Linked DNA regions of Homo sapiens: region 2 is linked to region 1. Evidence: promoter capture Hi-C in 16 types of primary human blood cells and fetal thymus (Javierre and others, 2016). All regions are on one chromosome and are shown on one strand. Each heading gives the region's core, a stretch centred on a gene start or on the middle of the fragment in contact. The rest is flanking DNA. Distances are from core to core; before and after follow the strand shown. Region 1 holds the start of CXCL3 (C-X-C motif chemokine ligand 3). Region 2 holds the start of CXCL2 (C-X-C motif chemokine ligand 2).

The links. Contacts are between HindIII fragments. The CHiCAGO score rates a contact against its expected background, and 5 or more counts as called.
Region 2: the fragment with the promoter of CXCL2 here is called in contact with the fragment with the promoter of CXCL3 in region 1 in 1 of 17 cell types (megakaryocytes); the score reaches 7.2 in megakaryocytes.

What each region holds. Positions count from the first base shown.
Region 1 is chr4:74,036,920-74,040,859 of GRCh38, reverse strand. CXCL3 (C-X-C motif chemokine ligand 3) reads left to right here and starts at 2,171. Exons shown (of 4, transcript NM_002090.3): 1 at 2,171-2,348; 2 at 2,447-2,570; 3 at 2,684-2,767; 4 at 3,583-3,940. The coding sequence starts at 2,249. The coding sequence ends at 3,598. It overlaps LOC105377275 (a long non-coding RNA gene), which reads right to left and starts at 1,915. Exons shown (of 2, transcript XR_938875.3): 1 at 1-1,915. The HindIII fragment of the contact is 4,426 bases long and covers 1-2,711 here.
Region 2 is chr4:74,097,237-74,101,176 of GRCh38, reverse strand. CXCL2 (C-X-C motif chemokine ligand 2) reads left to right here and starts at 1,982. Exons shown (of 4, transcript NM_002089.4): 1 at 1,982-2,156; 2 at 2,255-2,378; 3 at 2,493-2,576; 4 at 3,406-3,940. The coding sequence starts at 2,057. The coding sequence ends at 3,421. The HindIII fragment of the contact is 3,135 bases long and covers 1-2,520 here.

The DNA.
Region 1 (3,940 bases), core at 922-3,421:
CTGAAAGCCTTCCTAAATTAAAAACATTTAACTTTTTTGTTTTTTATAAATTCCCAATTGAACTTTATTTTTCATTTATAAGTTTGCAGCATTTATTACAGCTTGAAACTGCAGAAGACATTTGGGACACTATTTTGGCCTCCATTGGGTCAATGTTTTTTCTGTATCTATCCTTTCTTTCAAGGAATTTAAGTAGTCAGGGAGATGTGAGAGAGGAAATTATTGAAAAAGAATGGAGCATATATATTACCTATAGTGTCTATTTTAAAGTAACAGGACATTCTAGCACACCTTTCTATCCCTTGTCCAAGATTATTGTAATGACATCACAGATACCCGTGAGCACCAGTAACTACAAGACCATTTTGGAAACTGGGATTGTGGTGTTTATATGAACATTCTTCTTTCTAGGATGTGCTTTGATTTCTTAAGGACTCACACTGCTTTATATCAGTTAGAGACAGGGAGAGTTGGGTGGCAGTAAGGGATACAGAAAATTTTAAATGTGAAAAACACTGGGGAGTAAAACTTTCCATTAGATTCTTCTTTTTTCCTTTACAGAATTCATAGCAGGCTGAGTTTTTGTTCAGGCAATGTCGGGAAAGAAATAGCCTTTTAAAAATGGAAATAGTCCATTTTATTTATTTAACAACCATTAATAAGGCACTTAATCCATGTTGTCTCTTACAAATGTTAACTCATTTCTCATAACCACCTTGGGCTAGGCACAGAGAGGCTTAACAACTTGCAAGTGATACTCTGCAACTAAATACAGGCAGCACAGTTGCACGCTCTGTGTTTGGTTAGGGGCAAGGACTCTTATCCCTTGAGCTGGGTTGTGTAGAGCCCTGTGCTTCAGGCAGATGCCATTCCTTTCTCCTCTCCTCCATCCTACTCCACGTCTCAAAGAGGTCTGAGACCAACTTGTAGAATCACACTTAAACCCTCTAAAACCTAATGACAAATCAAAATACATTATCTAAAACTAGAAAAAGGGACAAAGGTGTCAGGTTAAAAGACTGAAAATCCAGACGAGAAAAAAAAGTGCCCTGTTAATGTTTCCAGAGAAAGATCCCCCAGTGCTGAATACCAGAAAATTCTATAGTAAATGAAATGTGATTTTATGTGTGATCTGGTGTTTAAATGTCATCAGCAGGCAGCTGTTTGCTCCTTCAGTGGGAATGGTGTTTGCACACCAGGTACCTACTCTCTAGTGTCATTCGCAAAGACAGAACCAGAAACATTGAGCCCATGATCCTGCTGGACCCAGCCCCTCCACAGCTTCAGAGTGACAGCCAGTGTCATATTTCTAGATCAAATCTGAATCCCTCCCACTGGGAGAAGGTCTCCAGGGGATTTAGGAAGTTCCAACATTTCAGAGGGAGGAAGGACGTTATGCAGGATACAAAAGAAGAGGTCATGTTATACAGCCCTGGCTTCCACGGACACTAACACTGAATTCAAATTTTGACACTGATAATCTGTTGCCACCAAATGGAAAACGTAAACAAGGTATTCTAAGTGTGATTAGAGAATATGCAAAACAAGGAACAAGTAGAACATTCTTCTCTGGAATCCGAGACGATGGCTGTACTTTCACAGAGAGCATGATGTTAGATGTACATGAAATAACGCTAAACCGAAAATGAGAGAGGCAGAGACCGGGAGGTTAACATAGAGGATAGACTATATAGAGAGAGGATAGCTGAGGGAAAACTCGCCTGTCTCCGGGTCCCCAGCAAATCTGATAACTAAGGAGACAAAGCTCTCTTCCTCTAAAGAAGTCGTGCCTTTCCTGTCCTGGTTCTCACGGGTCCCCCCAGCTCTTTCCTCCAACCCTACCCCGTACGCGGGGGGTCATCGGGGACCTAAGGTCCCCCCTCACAGGCTGTATCTTCAGCGAGGTGGACTCACTGCCTCTCCAGGAATTTGGGGCAGAAAATGAATATCCCAAAGTCCCAGAGTGCACGGGGGTTACTCTGGAGGGCGAGGCGTAGGCGTCACCAGTGGGCTCCCCCTACCCGTATCCGACTCCACCCCGGGGGCGGGGCCGTCGCCTTCCTTCGGGACTCCGGATCGATCTGGAGCTCCGGGAATTTCCCTGGCCCGGCCGCTCCGGGCTTTCCAGTCTCAACCATGCATAAAAAGGGTTCGCCGATCTTGGGGAGCCACACAGCCCGGGTCGCAGGCACCTCCCCGCCAGCTCTCCCGCTTCTCGCACAGCTTCCCGACGCGTCTGCTGAGCCCCATGGCCCACGCCACGCTCTCCGCCGCCCCCAGCAATCCCCGGCTCCTGCGGGTGGCGCTGCTGCTCCTGCTCCTGGTGGCCGCCAGCCGGCGCGCAGCAGGTGGGTCCCGGCGCCCTGGGGTCCCCGGGCCGGACGCGGCTGGGGTGGGCGCCCCGCGCCGACAGCCCCGCTCAATCAGCGAGTCTATTCTTCCCTAGGAGCGTCCGTGGTCACTGAACTGCGCTGCCAGTGCTTGCAGACACTGCAGGGAATTCACCTCAAGAACATCCAAAGTGTGAATGTAAGGTCCCCCGGACCCCACTGCGCCCAAACCGAAGTCATGTAAGTCCCGCCCCGCGCTTCCGCTGCCACCGCTGGGGTCCCCGACTCTCCCGCTGCCCCAACCCTGTCCCCAGCCCGACCTCCTGTCTCACGGAATTCCCTTCTCTCTGCAGAGCCACACTCAAGAATGGGAAGAAAGCTTGTCTCAACCCCGCATCCCCCATGGTTCAGAAAATCATCGAAAAGATACTGAACAAGTGAGTTGTAATTTCCATATACACAGGCGACTGGAGCCGTTGGTCAGAAATACTGGCATCTGCCCCCTAAAAATAAAATCAGGGAACCCCAAGAGTTAGCTGAAGGACTAGAAATTGTGATTATTATTTTCACAATTAAAGTTGCCATTAAGGTTATTAATCTGCTCTGGTGCCAGAGGATATTTCAGTATTTCAGTGTCTTCCATTTCCAGGCCTAACCCCTGGGAGGGTAAATGTGGGTTTCTAGAATACTAAGTAAATTTGACTAACAATGCCAAAATGCCCCCTGCCTGTTTTGGGACGTTTACCTCAGTCCCTAATGGGCTTCAGACCTGAAAAATGCAATGTCTGGTTTGGGCACTTTGGGCCTGTAAGCCTTCTTGGTGAAGAGCAGAAACTTTGCAGTAACACCTTCAGTGAGTTCAAGGCTAGGATCCCTGTCAACGTTATTTAATCTCTTTGAGCTTTAGCAAAATAGGGTAGATAATGGTAGTTATTTCATAGGGTTGTGTGCAGCTTAAGGGAGATCATGAATGGACATTTCTAACCCAATGTGACAATCAGTGACCAATATGTTTTGGCTTTTTCAAACCAAGAATCTAGTTGAGTCCACAGCCACTTCTTTCTTGAAAAAAAAAAAAAAAGCATTCAGGAGTGCAAGTTTTCTGCTATAGAAGGCAGTGGGTACAGACAGACCTTCCCTGAGTGGAGGGCTGGGAGAGAGTCTGCATGGGGACATCCCTCCAAGCAACTTCAGAGTGACAGAAGAGCAGCCTTCCTTAGCACCTGCAACAGTAACCCTTTTCTCATCACAGGGGGAGCACCAACTGACAGGAGAGAAGTAAGAAGCTTATCAGCGTATCATTGACACTTCCTGCAGGGTGGTCCCTGCCCTTACCAGAGCTGAAAATGAAAAAGAGAACAGCAGCTTTCTAGGGACAGCTGGAAAGGACTTAATGTGTTTGACTATTTCTTACGAGGGTTCTACTTATTTATGTATTTATTTTTGAAAGCTTGTATTTTAATATTTTACATGCTGTTATTTAAAGATGTGAGTGTGTTTCATCAAACATAGCTCAGTCCTGATTATTTAATTGGAATATGATGGGTTTTAAATGTGTCATTAAACTAATATTTAGTGGGAGACCATAATGTGTCAGCCACCTTGATAAA
Region 2 (3,940 bases), core at 733-3,232, 61 kb before region 1:
AGTCAGTTTGAGCTGCTATAACAGAATGCCATAGGCTAGGGGGCTTAAACAACAATTATTTCACAGTTCTGGAGGCTGGGGAGTCCAAGATTAAGATCCTGGCAGATTTCATGCTTGGTGAGGGCCCTCTTCTCAGTTTGCAGATGGTGGCCTTCTTGCTGTGTCCTCACAATGCAGAAAGGGAGAGAGAGCCAGAGATCGAAAGCTCACTGATCTCTTGCTGTAATGGCACTTATCCCATCATGGGGGCCATACCTTCATAACCTCACCTAAACCTAATTACTTCCCATGGTCCTGTCTTCTAATATTAGCACATAAGGGAGTCAGGGCTTCATCATCTGAATTTGAAAGAGACACAAACATCCAGCCTATATCAGTAAGGTTGTGAAACACCACTTCTATTTTGTTATTTAACAAATATTTACATAACACTTTACATGCACTGATGGTTTACACATATTAACAATCAATACTTCTAACAACCCCGTGAGGCAGGCACTATTATAAGCTCTTCTACAGGGGAGAAACATGAGCAAATAAAGCATAAATTACCAAGGGTCATGAAGCAAGTTAGTGGTATGGCTGAAACTTCAGCCCTGACATCCTTATCAAGTGATCTCTACAGCTGCAGCATCCAGGGAACACTCTATTCCTAAGGTAGTCCCACTTCTTCATCCTCGTGCCACTCCCAGCCCTTCTCATAGCAGTGGCAGAATATCTCCATATCCCTGAAGTCTGCATCCACCAGGAAGAATTAAGACAGAGTATTGTAGGCCTACAGCTTAATTTTTAAAGAGAGGGGGTCATTGAAATTGATGATGAAAAGTCAGTAATCCAGTGAGAAGGCATCAGCTAAACAGGCTTGGAAATGCTTTATTGACATTCCTCTAGAACTAAAATTTCCTCGATAGCTGTTTCTCTAGAGGGAACCAATCCCAGGATGCTGGTAAATACATATGGCATGGAAATGCAATTATGTTAGCAATCTAGTATGTATATATCAGACATGTCTGCTTGTGCTTAGAGTAGTAAACAAGCGGAGTCTCATTCCCTGCTCCTTTTCTGGTGGTGTCTATGGCCTTTTCTGCCCAGGGACAGCACTAGAAAAGGCAGACCTCCTGAGCCCAACAGGCCCCTCGCAGCTCCCAGTGACTTCCATGGATCAAAACACAGACTTCCATACAACAAAAAATTGATGCTACTGGAATTACTAGAGTTCGAGATGTTCCAAGATTTCAAAGAGAGAAAGGATGGGGGATTGCAACACTGTTAACTAAAATAAACACTGAATTGACCCTTGGCAATGGTCTGTTCCCGCACCCAACACCTGGCTCCACTACGTTGAAACACACACACACACACACACACACACACACACACACACACACACACGTGATATTTGCTTTTAAGATCATAAAACACCAGGAAGGAGACAAAAGCTCTTATGCGTCATCTGAGATGACACATGTACTGTTAAAGCGTGCGTTTATTTCAAACATTAATGAAATTTGCAGAACCCAAACTAAAGAGAGAGGATAGATAAGACATGCTGCAGTTCTTGCCCTAACTTTCAATCCCAACAACTGAAATGTCTTCCAGAGAAGTAACTCCCCCCGGTAAGGATGTAGCGCGGTCCCTACGTGGGTCTAAGGGATCTGACCCACGACGCACTGCACTGGGTTCACGAAGCGCCTCCTCGCAGGCGGTTATCTCGGTATCTCTGAGAGCGGCGGGCTCTCGCTCCCGCTCCAGGGATTCGGGGCAGAAAGAGAACATCCCACAGTTGGCGGGAGTTACGCAAGACAGTCAGACCCGGACGTCACTCGTGAGTGCCCCGACCCCCCTCCACCCCAGAGGCGGGGCCATCGCCTTCCTTCCGAACTCGGGATCGATCTGGAGCTCCGGGAATTTCCCTGGCCCGGGACTCCGGGCTTTCCAGCCCCAACCATGCATAAAAGGGGTTCGCCGTTCTCGGAGAGCCACAGAGCCCGGGCCACAGGCAGCTCCTTGCCAGCTCTCCTCCTCGCACAGCCGCTCGAACCGCCTGCTGAGCCCCATGGCCCGCGCCACGCTCTCCGCCGCCCCCAGCAATCCCCGGCTCCTGCGGGTGGCGCTGCTGCTCCTGCTCCTGGTGGCCGCCAGCCGGCGCGCAGCAGGTGGGTCCCGGCGCCCTGGGGTCCCCGGGCCGGACGCGGCTGGGGTGGGCGCCCCGCGCCGACAGCCCCGCTCAATCAGCGAGTCTCTTCTTCCCTAGGAGCGCCCCTGGCCACTGAACTGCGCTGCCAGTGCTTGCAGACCCTGCAGGGAATTCACCTCAAGAACATCCAAAGTGTGAAGGTGAAGTCCCCCGGACCCCACTGCGCCCAAACCGAAGTCATGTAAGTCTCGCCCATCGCTGCCGCTGCCACTGCTGGGGTCCCCGACTCTCCCGCTGCCCCAAACCCTGTCCTCAGCCCGACCTCCTGTCTCACGAGATTCCCTTCTCTCTGCAGAGCCACACTCAAGAATGGGCAGAAAGCTTGTCTCAACCCCGCATCGCCCATGGTTAAGAAAATCATCGAAAAGATGCTGAAAAAGTAAGTTATAATTTCCATGTACACAGGCGACTGGAGCTGTTGGTCAGAAATACTGGCGTCTGCCCCCTAAAAAGTAAATCAGGAAAACCCAGGGTTAGCTGCAGGACTGAAAAAATTATTATTTTCACAAAGTTGCCATTAAGGTTATTAATCTGTTCTGGTGCCAGAGGATATTCCCAGTGCCCAGGGTCACCACCCAGGTTCTTCCCTCCTGCCAGTGAATGTAGGTAAAACTGCTTTCATGTAAGGTCTCATTGGAGTTTGCCAGTTGTGCTGAAGTGTTTTCCACCTGTTAAAAAACACAAGCTTCATTTCCCCTAGTTCCTACTGACTTTCAGACCTGAAAAGCAGACCCCCTGGTTTTTTGTAAAAGTTTAGGGTTGAAGTGCAGAGATTTCACAATAATATTGCACTGGGTATATAACTGGTTGCCACCACCTATTAGCCATGTCACTCAGAGACAATATTATTTAGTTTATCTGAGACTCAGCAAAACAGGGAAAATAATGGTAGCTACATCATGAGGTTGCTTTGAGGCTCAAGTGAGGCCCAGTATGACAAAGAGCAATAGGCTCTGGCTGTTTTAGCCAGTAAAACAGTGTAGACTGCCACTCCTCCACCCCACGTCACCCCCATTCCTAAAAGAGCATCCCAAGCCTAGAGGTCCTTGCCACACAGCACAGCTGTCACAGGCAGTACCCACTTGGGTGCCAGGCTGGGGAAACTGCATTCAGAAAACTCTAGAGCCTGGGGAAACAGGACAGGAGAAGACTGTTGTGCAGTCAGCTTTCCTGAGCACCTACTCAGGGCACCCATTTTCTCATTACAGTGGCAAATCCAACTGACCAGAAGGAAGGAGGAAGCTTATTGGTGGCTGTTCCTGAAGGAGGCCCTGCCCTTACAGGAACAGAAGAGGAAAGAGAGACACAGCTGCAGAGGCCACCTGGATTGCGCCTAATGTGTTTGAGCATCACTTAGGAGAAGTCTTCTATTTATTTATTTATTTATTTATTTGTTTGTTTTAGAAGATTCTATGTTAATATTTTATGTGTAAAATAAGGTTATGATTGAATCTACTTGCACACTCTCCCATTATATTTATTGTTTATTTTAGGTCAAACCCAAGTTAGTTCAATCCTGATTCATATTTAATTTGAAGATAGAAGGTTTGCAGATATTCTCTAGTCATTTGTTAATATTTCTTCGTGATGACATATCACATGTCAGCCACTGTGATAGAGGCTGAGGAATCCAAGAAAATGGCCAGTGAGATCAATGTGACGGCAGGGAAATGTATGTGTGTCTATTTTGTAACTGTAAAGATGAATGTCAGTTGTTATTTATTGAAATGATTTCACAGTGTG